3 separate regions of the Homo sapiens genome follow, and all the other regions are linked to region 3. The links are contacts of gene promoters, found by promoter capture Hi-C in human tissues and cell types (Jung and others, 2019). All regions are on one chromosome and are shown on one strand. Each heading gives the region's core, a stretch centred on a gene start or on the middle of the fragment in contact. The rest is flanking DNA. Distances are from core to core; before and after follow the strand shown. Region 1 overlaps ITIH2 (inter-alpha-trypsin inhibitor heavy chain 2). Region 2 overlaps ITIH5 (inter-alpha-trypsin inhibitor heavy chain 5). Region 3 holds the start of ITIH2 (inter-alpha-trypsin inhibitor heavy chain 2).

Evidence for each region. The method cuts DNA at HindIII sites, captures the fragments that hold promoters and counts their contacts. A contact is called where the count stands out against the background at its distance.
Region 1: a contact is called between a fragment that was not itself captured here and the fragment with the promoter of ITIH2 in region 3, in 4 of the 25 tissues and cell types used here (neural progenitor cells, spleen, stomach and 1 more).
Region 2: a fragment that was not itself captured here is called in contact with the fragment with the promoter of ITIH2 in region 3 in 2 of the 25 tissues and cell types used here (aorta and stomach).

Annotation. Positions count from the first base shown.
Region 1 is chr10:7,735,261-7,738,898 of GRCh38, reverse strand. It overlaps ITIH2 (inter-alpha-trypsin inhibitor heavy chain 2), which reads right to left. Exons shown (of 21, transcript NM_002216.3): 16 at 141-278. Among named protein-coding and RNA genes, the nearest start is that of ITIH2, 34 kb to the right of the region's middle. The HindIII fragment of the contact is 7,154 bases long and covers 1-3,638 here.
Region 2 is chr10:7,650,240-7,653,687 of GRCh38, reverse strand. The region is part of intron 2 of ITIH5 (inter-alpha-trypsin inhibitor heavy chain 5); the gene reads left to right. Among named protein-coding and RNA genes, the nearest start is that of ITIH5, 15 kb to the left of the region's middle. The HindIII fragment of the contact is 9,278 bases long and covers 1-3,448 here.
Region 3 is chr10:7,701,313-7,704,608 of GRCh38, reverse strand. ITIH2 (inter-alpha-trypsin inhibitor heavy chain 2) reads right to left here and starts at 1,293. Exons shown (of 21, transcript NM_002216.3): 1 at 1,091-1,293. The coding sequence starts at 1,174. The HindIII fragment of the contact is 26,123 bases long and covers 1-3,296 here.

The DNA of each region.
Region 1 (3,638 bases), core at 138-2,637, 34 kb before region 3:
ACAGGTGATCTGCCTGCCTTGGCCTCCCAAAGTGCTGCGATTACAGGCGTGAGCCGCTGCACCTGGCCTCATGCACACAATGCTTCCCAGGATTATGGTCGGCTGAGTTCTGGGACGTGCAAGCAGTGTAGAAGCGTTACCTCTCATCACATGTGGGGGTGGCGTGGACTCTAGCACCTGAGATCCTTGTGCCAGCATGGAGATCACGGGCGTTGGTGAAGGATTGGCCCAAGACGGGGTGGAATCTGGAACCACTTTGCTGCCGTAATACAGGGCCCCTGCGTAGACAAACCTGCATCTGTTAGTTTCTAGATTTACGTTTCCACGGAAATTGCTCACCATGTCAAGAATCTGTTTTATGCACCCCCAGGTATTGTCAGCTTAGGTTTTTCTCCTCTGTTTTTATTCCAGAGTTCTCTCGGGCTCCCTCTGTCATGTTGCTGAGGGAGGAGGCCTGTGATACAGTTCTCTCTGGAGTCTGGAACCTGAGCAAGGGTGGCAGTGGGAGGAACCGCTTTATAGGGCCGGGGAAGGGCCCCGTGACTCCAGTGCAGGCCGGGGAGCGAAGTCTGGGAGAAGGCCCAGAATATAATATATAATATTATATAGAATATAATATATAATATTATATAGAATATAATATATAATATTATATAGAATATAATATATAATATTATATAGAATATAATATATAATATTTTATAGAATATAATATATAATATATAGAATATAATATATAATATATAGAATATAATATATAATATATAGAATATAATATATAATATATAGAATATAATATATAATATATAGAATATAATATATAATATATAGAATATAATATATAATATATAGAATATAATATATAATATATAGAATATAATATATAATATATAGAATATAATATATAATATATAGAATATAATATATAATATATAGAATATAATATATAATATATAGAATATAATATATAATATATAGAATATAATATATAATATATAGAATATAATATATAATATATAGAATATAATATATAATATATAGAATATAATATATAATATATAGAATATAATATAGAATATTATATAGAATATAATATAGAATATTATATAGAATATAATATAGAATATTATATAGAATATAATATAGAATATTATATAGAATATAATATAGAATATTATATAGAATATAATATAGAATATTATATAGAATATAATATAGAAAATATAGAATATAATATAGAATATAATATAGAATATTCTATAGAATATAGAATATAATATAGAATATTCTATAGAATATAGAATATAATATAGAATATAGAATTTAATATATAATATTATATAGAATACATAATATATATTATATAGAATACATAGTATATAATATATAGAATACAAAATATATATAATTATATATTACAGATAATATAATTATAATTATACGTTATCTGTTATATATATATATACACGTGTATATATATATATATATATATGAGATATATACACGTGTGTGTATATATCATATATGTATATATGTTTCGGTAGAACCAGTCCCCAAGAAAGAGAAAAGAAAGAGACGTATAAACCTGAGGTCTCCTAGCCCTGGGTGTGTGCACCCTCGGGGGTGCCTGGATACTTTCTGCAGGACTCAGAGAGCATGGACTGTTTGAAAGGCAATTTCTAGAGTCTCAGTTTAGACACAGACTCGTTCCTAAAGAAAGCCTTTTCTCCTAGTTTACAAGCAGAAGGCCAGTTCTTGTCTACTCCCCTCCCCCAGAGTCCTCCAGGAAGCAAAACATCCATTGGAATACTGGTGTAGGGCAAGAAACCTGATTCCAATGATTGGGAGCAAGTGCTTGTACAAACCACAGGGCTTCCAATTCTTTGCTTTCAACAAAATTGAAGAAGGGCTCACATTGTCAGCTGATAAATTATACAAAATTTTTTGGACGCTAGGTCTGTATGCATGTTTTGGCATATAATATGAAAGAGTTCAGATAAGCGAGTAACTGAATATAACCAGACACTTGCCATTTCTATCCACTTGTCTATACCAACCAATATTTATCAGGACTTCTGCCCATACAAGTTCTCTTAAAAGTAGAATTGATGCCGAATCCTGTCTCTTTCAATCCATTCGTAAATAATACTTACCCATGAATACATGAAAAACAGTCACATTTTTCCCAGTAAGAGATTATAGATTATTTCCACTCCAGTTTTACTTCTTATTTGTAAACAAATTTATAATCTATTTATATTATTTTGCTCACTTGGCTACTAGTAGTAATATTAATCAGACCAGGTTCAGAAGGGAATTTTGAATACTCAGAATCTTATGGTTATGATTTTTAAATTAAATTCTTAATTAAAATTAAAATGTATAAACTTTTTTTCTTATAGATAAGTGAGGTGATTACTAAAATAAGCATAAAAATATATTACAATAGGATATAGTTCTGCTGGGCAAGTGGAGTGGAAATACAAGTTCAACTAGAAAAAAGAATAATATAAAACTTCCAATAATTTTTTTTCGAGACAAGGTCTTATTCTGTTACTCAGGCTGGAGTGCAGTGGTGTGATTGGCTCACTGCAACCTTCACCTTCCAGGCTCAAGCAATCCTCCCGCCTCAGCCTCCTGAGTATTTGGGACTATGGGCATGTGCCACCATGGCTGGCTAATTTTAGTATTTTTTTCTAAAGATGGGGTTTTGCTATGTTGACCAGGCTCGTCTCATGTTCATAGGCTCAAGCAATTAACCCACTCCAGCCTCCCAAAGTGCTGGGATTATAGGCATGAGCCACCATGACTGGCCAGGTTCTAGTAATTGTAATATAGGATTTGCTTATGTATTTTTTAAAAATGAGTGATAGTGAGTAACCAATTAAGTATTCTGTTTTATTAGATGTATTGAAAACAGTGATATGGTCAGGCACGGTGGCTCACGCCTGTAACCCCAGCACTTTGGGAGGCCAAGGCAAGTGGATCGCCTGAGGTCAGGAGTTCGAGACCAGCCTGGCCAACATGGTAAAACCCCGTCTCTACTAAAATACAAAAAATTAGCTGGGCGTGGTGGCACATGCCTGTAATCCCAGCTACTTGGGAGGCTGAAGCAGGAGAATTGCTTGAACCTGGGAGGCTGAGGTTGCAGGGAGCTGAGATCGTGCCATTGTGCTCCAGCCTGGTAAACAGAGCAAGACTCTGTCTCAAAAAAAAAAAAAAAAGAAAAGAAAAGAAAAGAAAAGAAAAAGAAAACAGTGATGTGACAGTTTTATTTTAAAAGGTCAATATTTATAAAATACTATGATTATGTTAGTTGCATATAGAAATTGTATTTGTTGTCCAGGAATTGGAGGTTGCAGTGAGATGTGATGGCACCCCCAGGAGGCGGGAGTGCAGTGGTCCTCCTGGGCTCGAGAGATCCTCCTGCCTCAGCTTTCCAAACAGGTGAGATTACAGGTGCCCACCATCACACCCAGCTAATGAAAAAAAACTTTTCTTTAGAGATGGGGTCTCGCTATGTTGCCCAGGCTAAGATAAAAAATTTCAAATATTGATGTCAAAAATGTTGGAAGGGGTACGCAGGTTTTCAAAAGTTCCTTTGGGAAACTTGTGAGCAAAATGGTCAACGACCACAG
Region 2 (3,448 bases), core at 607-3,106, 51 kb after region 3:
AAATCTGTATTTATATGTATTATAATTTACTAAACTTTCTGTTATTGATGAACTCTCAATTTATTTCCAGATTTTTTCACCCTGTACACAATCCTTCAAAAAACACTTTCATTTCTTCTTTTATGTGGGTATTTTTAATTCTACGACTTACAATTCAAACTGCATATACATTTTAAATTTTGCCAGGCTCGATGGCTCACGCCTGTAATCTCAGCAGTTTGGGAGGCTGAGGGGGGTGAATCACCTGAGGTCTGGAGTTCAAGACCAGCCTGGCTAACATGGTGAAACCCCATCTCTACTAAAAAATACAAAAATTTGCCAAGCGTGGTGGTGTATGCCTGTAATCCCAGCTACTCGGGAGGCTGAGGCGGGAGGATTGCTTGAACCCAGGAGGCATAGGTTGCAGTGAGCTGAGATTGCACCACTGCACTCTAGCTTGGGCAACAGAGCAAGACTCTGTCTCAAAAACAACCTTTTTTTTGATAGATGTCAGATTAATTTTTGAATACTATTACTCTTAACACTATCTGTATTCATACCATGTCTATCAGCAATGATGAATACACACATTTCTGCCAGCAACTGATATAATTACTCTTTTAAATTTGCCAATCTCTTACTTAGGAAGTGATATCTCATTGTTCCTTTAACTTGCATTTCCCTGCCTATGTACGAATTTGGAATTTTTTTCTTTTATTGCTCAAACCATTCTCCATAACAAGGATTTGGACATTTTAAATTATATTTGTTAGCCATTCAGAGTCGTTCTCCTGTGAATTGCTTTTTTTTTTCCAGGTCCTTTGCCCATCTTTCTATTGTGTTTTTTATCCACCTCATTGTCAATTTATCAGAGACCTTTGTATGTGATAGATACCTTCTGTCTTCTAAACTGGAAGAATGCCTCTCTGAATCTATCATTTATTAACTTTCTTTCTGGTATGTTTGCCACATAAAAGTGCTCAGTTCCTAAGTAATAAGTAGTTTATGTTTTCCTTTCAAAGGAAAGGAAAAAGAGGCTTTGTACACGTAGCCTCTAAGGGTACAAAGATTTTCTTGACTCCTTAGCTTAGACCATTTATATAACCTCTTAGATTTTCTTAGAAATTTCTTAGAATTTTGAAAGTCTTACTTTTACAACTATCATAAATTTTTAACATGAACTTTACTGACCATCCAGTTGGTACTAGAATGATTTTTCCAGTGGTAGACCTGGCGCATCACTCTCTTGCGTGCATGTCTTCAGTGACTCCACATCACCCGTGGGATAAGCTCCAAGGATGTGTGAAACCCTGCGTGATGCGCCTCCTGCTTGCCTCTGGAGCTCAGTTCATCCTATGAGTCTCCTTCTAGCCTGCATTCTTGCCATCTCCCTCCAGTTGTCATCCTCTGAATGTTCCGTGCTTGAATTAATGAATAGAATGTGGATGGCAACAGCTGGTACTCCCGTAACACTGCCAGGACCACAGGAATTTGTTTGATTTTATTCTGAATTAATTAGATACCCTTTTTATGAAGCTCCCTGGCATACATACACACAAAATATTTACTCTTTGGAAAGCAGGGGGATCTTTGTGTGTGAATTTCCATGGTGCTGAATGGATCCTGGCCTGGGTTTCCCAAGAGGATTCGCTGCCATCATTTAACCTCCTGACTGCAGGGTCTGTCTTGGTGTCTGCTTTGCAGCAGGTGTTCTACAGTTTGTGCTCAGGGTTTGTTTCTATTGAGTGTGGTAAGATACACAGACAGAGAAATGACTGACATGAAGGAGGAATTTCATACTCACAGATCCCTGGAGGCAGGGGCAGCAGCATACCATGCCAGGACACATGGGGAAGCACCATGGTGGGTCAGGGGCAGAAGGTGCAGAGGACAGTGTGTGTCTCAGAGCCTGCATTGGGGTTTTCATGGGAAGGAATGGGCAAGGCAGGGTAGTAGGTAGGCTGAGGAGGTTTAGGATTGGCTGTAGGGTTGGTCTCTAGTTGTCAGGTACCTGGTCCTGGGGAGATTTAGGGTAGGGGGAGTATTGGCTTGGCGCATGAGTTTTATTTATTATTATTGTTATTATTATTATTATTATTTTGAGACAGAGTCTCACTCTGTGGCCCAGGCTGGAGCCCAGTGGTGCGATCTCGGCTCACTGCAACCTCCACTTCCTGGGTTCAAGTGAGTCTTGCGCCTCAGTCTCCCGAGCACCTGGGATTAGAGGCCTCCCGAGTACCTGGGATTACAGGCATGCATCATCGCGCTCGGCTAATTTTCGTATTTTTAGTAAAGATGGGTTTCGCCATGTTGGCCAGGCTGGTCTTAAACTCCTGACCTCAGGTGATCCGCCTGCCCTGCCCTCCCAAAGTGCTGGGATTACAGGCGTGAGCCACCGTGCCCAGCCGAGGTGCATGAGTTTGATATGGGAGATGGTTGGATGTGTGGCTATGGATTGGTCGGTTTATATATCAAAGGTATGCTTGCAGCAGGGTTGTCTGCTGTTCCTAGGAACAAGCCAGCCCTGGGAGGGACGGTCTTTCCAGGATCAAAGCCCCAAATGCCAGAGCATCAAGAATATAGAAAACAAGAAAATACAGTCAATACAGCAGGTAGCATGACTCTGGGCATCATACCTCATTGAGGACCAGTCATATGTGTGTCTGTGCCTGTGCCCAACTCTGACCATTGTGTGCATCCTGTTCAGGAAGTGTATAGAATGGGGCGGGGGAGGGGGAGGGTTTTCTTGTATAAAAATAAAAATGGCATTTTGTTTTCCTTCTCCCCTAAATATAATGAAACATCACTACGTAGACTGTATTAGCACAAGTAGGTGATTCAGAACCGATGCCATTTCCTGTCTACAGAGGGGTAAAATGATTTCCCCGAGGTGGTAAATCTAGCAGTTGGGGAAGTGCCTTTTTCTCCTGTTTCATTCAATAACAACATGGGCTGTATTTTTTTTTTTTTTTGAGATGGAGTTTTGCTCTTGTCACCCAGGCTGGAGTGCAATGGCATTATCTTGGCTCACTGCAACCTCCTCTTCCCGGGTTCAAGTGATTCTCCTGCCTTAGCCTCCTGAGTAGCTGGGATTATGGGCACCCATCATCACACCTGGCTAATTTTTTGCATTTTTAATAGAGACGGGGTTTCACCATGTTGGCCAGGCTGGTCTCAAACTCCTGATCTCAGGTGATCCACCAGCTTTGACCCCCAAAGTGCTGGGATTACAGGCATGAGCCACCACGCCCGGCCCTGTATTGTTTTTCTCAGAAAGGAGAAGCATTAAGGGTTAGTAGAGATTTGGTGCGTGGAGTCAGCCAACTGCCACGCTCCAGCCTTCTCTCTAAAACAAAGGGGAGCAGAGTTAGATGATTTCTAAAGTTCTCTCCCACCTCCATAATGACTTCTCATGGTTGCTAAAGACTGGTTAGACTGAAAGAAAATAATGAAAGGTTAATCTTCTAGG
Region 3 (3,296 bases), core at 44-2,543:
AATTCATTTTTGAGTTTGCCAGCAGGTGGTAAGACAGAGATCAAAACAACCCAGTGATTAGGTGGGTGTCTGGGGAAGTATCTGGGTAGACCCTGGAGGCATTTGCAGTGTCTGACTGGACAGACATGAACCATACATCTCCCCAAGTTAAAAATGTAGGTATTTTCTAAAAGGAAATGCCAGTTAGAAATGACTGAAAAAGCACAAACACATTTGGATGTCTTGGCTTCAATTTGAGATTTCTAACACACTCTGGTGGCTTTTAAGTGTTGGAAAATATGATAGTTTCAAAGCAGACAGAGTGATATTTTCCCTTTGTAAATATGCCGTCATATTCTCTGGCATTTTTATAGGTAATCCACTCTGCAAGTATTATAAGCCTTTGCATTTGCTGGGATGTTCCCATAACATGCTTCGCTTTTCTGGCATAAAAATAGCTCTTGTATGACTTTCAGAAACAGACTTTCAGTCCAAGACTTTCCTTACATTGGAGATGGCTAAGGGACAAAAGTGGAGACCTGTACTCCATGGGAATTATTCTTGTACTTTTCCACCCTGCCTGCTATCTTCCGCTTTAATAGGAATACTTAAAGTGCTCTTATTACAAATATCACTGTTCACTTAGATATGAAAAACAGTGTGCTTTGATAATGACTTTTCTTATACTCTTAGTAAAAGAGTGATAATATTTCTTCATCATCATAACAGCTAGTAATTATTAAGCACTTACTAGTCCAGGCGCTCTGCTAGAAGAGTTTACACTGTGTCATTTAATTCTCAAAGCAAACCATTGGGTTAGGTCTATTCTTACCCCCAATTTTTTAGGTGAGGAGTGAGCAGCTCTGCTCCATAAATGCTACGCTCTGATGCCTGCCCATTGATCTTGACTTAATTTTCATGCAAAACCTGTTAATGCTTTAAAAGGTAAATATACATTCCAGTAATTATAACAGTAAACACTTGCACTCAGATGAATTTTATCTTAAGTTTCCATTACACACAGAATAAGGCCATTGAATAGCGATTCCAATAGATGATTTACTGAGCTCATGAACAAGCCAACAGCAAGGAGTGATCTGTAAGTACTTACTTCAGAAAGTCCATTTATGGGGATTTCGAAGCCTGATACTTCAGAAAGAAAGAAGCAGATGAAAAAGCACGTGAGTCTTTTCATTTTGCTGGACAGTTTTGCCAAGCTCCCCAAAGCAGATGGTCTGGGGAGGATATCACTTCTTCCTACTGAACCAAGTTCAAAGGAACAGCAGAGGAGTACAGTTCGCTTTAAGAAAGAAGAAAAAAGAAGAAAAAACTCTCTAACTTTGTTCAAAATTGGGACAAATATTTGTTCTGGAGCTCAAACTTGAGCTGTGTGGGTGGATCGAACACCCAGAGGTTATTCAAACAGCAAAGTCAGAAGCAGTTGCTTACTGTGAGGACAAGTCAGGGGCAGATGGATGTGCTTGAATGTGCTTGTGTGCTTTTATTTTATTTTTATTTTTTATTTTTTGGCTTTTGCTGATTTCTATTGATCTTAAAATCAGAGAGACCTACAGATAATTGTCATCCTTTCTAAAGGACCAAGTGCAGAACTATTCCAAGAAACAAAATCCTTTGATCTAAATGAAAGCAGGAAAAATTTAGAAAAAGTGGGAGAAGACACAGAAGGGTTTTTCTGAGCAAAGAATTCATTGTGCATGTTTTCCCCTATCTCTTTGATGACTGTCTACCTGTTACCTATAAAGACCCAGGCAAGTGGCTGTGCAGGATACTAGGGCAGATCTTCAGTGAGAATGCTTCGTGAATGTCTTTGATTAAGGTAACAGTGTCTGTCCTGCTGCCCCTATCAGCCGGGCTCAGGTCAGTGGCAAATCAATACTCCCCAGTCTCAGAATTGGAGTGCAGTGGTGAGATCAAAGCTCATTGCAGCCTCAACTTCCCCCGGCTCAAGCAATCTGCCCACCTCAGCCTCCAGAGTAGCTGGACTACAGGTGTGCACTACACTGCCTGGCTATTTTTTGTAGAGATGGGATTTCATCATGTTGCTCATCCTGGTCTTGAACACCTGGGCTCAAGCTATCTGCTTGCCTCAGCCTCCGAAACTGCTGGGATTCCAGATGTGAGCCCCCATGCCTAGCCTCCATCCTGGTCAGATTCTATTTTTCTTGCAACAAACAGGAAATGTAACTTCTTGGATGCAACACTGAAATAGGAAGCTCCAGCTGTGGGCAGAATTACAATACAAGGGAGGTTGTCTTATCCTCAGGACCAAGCACCCCAGGCCAACTTCTGGGATCCTGGAGCTCCTTGCTACATTTAAAGCCCAATTCACAGGGCATGCAACAGAGAGTTTTCTGCATTTTCCTCCCTAGTTTCCCCTCAGTCTTCGAAATTGCACAGCCGTGTGTCTGCTGGAGAAACATAACTTCTGAAATAATGGAAGGGAGAAAACAGATTCTCCCCTCCCTTGCCTAGGTTGGACTAGTTGAGCGCCCACCTTGGCCAGTGAGTGCCTCAGTGGACCCCTCATGGAAAAATCCTGCCACAGCTTTGCATTCTTGACTGAGATACTGTTTCTGGAGAATTAAGACCCAATGGCAGCTGGGCGCGGTGGCTCACACTTGTAATCCCAGCACTTTGGGAGACTGAGGCGGGTGGATGACCTGAGGTCAGGAGTTTGAGACCAGCCTGGCCAACATAGTGCAACCCCGTCTCTACTAAAAATACAAAAATTAGCCAGGTGTGGTGGCATGCGCCTGTAATCCCAGCTACTTGGGAGGCTGAGGCATGAGAATTGCTTGAACTGGGGAGGCGGAGGTTAGAGTGAGCTGAGATCACGCCACTGCATTCCACCTGGGCAACAGGGCAAGACTTGGTCTCAAAAGAAAAAAATAAATAAATAATAAAAAACCCAATGGCATGTTCTCCCAAAAACAGCAGTGACTTTCAAAATCATACCTCCTTCCATTGATCATTTCCTTTCTGATTATTTTAATCTGATATTCAGAATTATCTCAGAATAAACCAAACCAAAAGCAGGCTGGACTTTTTTCCATGCTGATACTCTGTCTTCAGATCCCAAAGTCCTTTTTTTTTTTTTTTTTTGAGAGGGAGCGTCACTCTGTGGCTCAGACTCAAGCGCAATGGCATGATCTTGGCTTACTGCAACCTCCACCTCCCAGGTTCACGCGATTCCCCTGCCTGAACCTCCCAAGTAGCTGGAATTACGGGCGTGCACCACCACAACTAACTTTGTATTATTTTTTTTAAAGTAAAGATGGGGTTTCACCATATTGGTC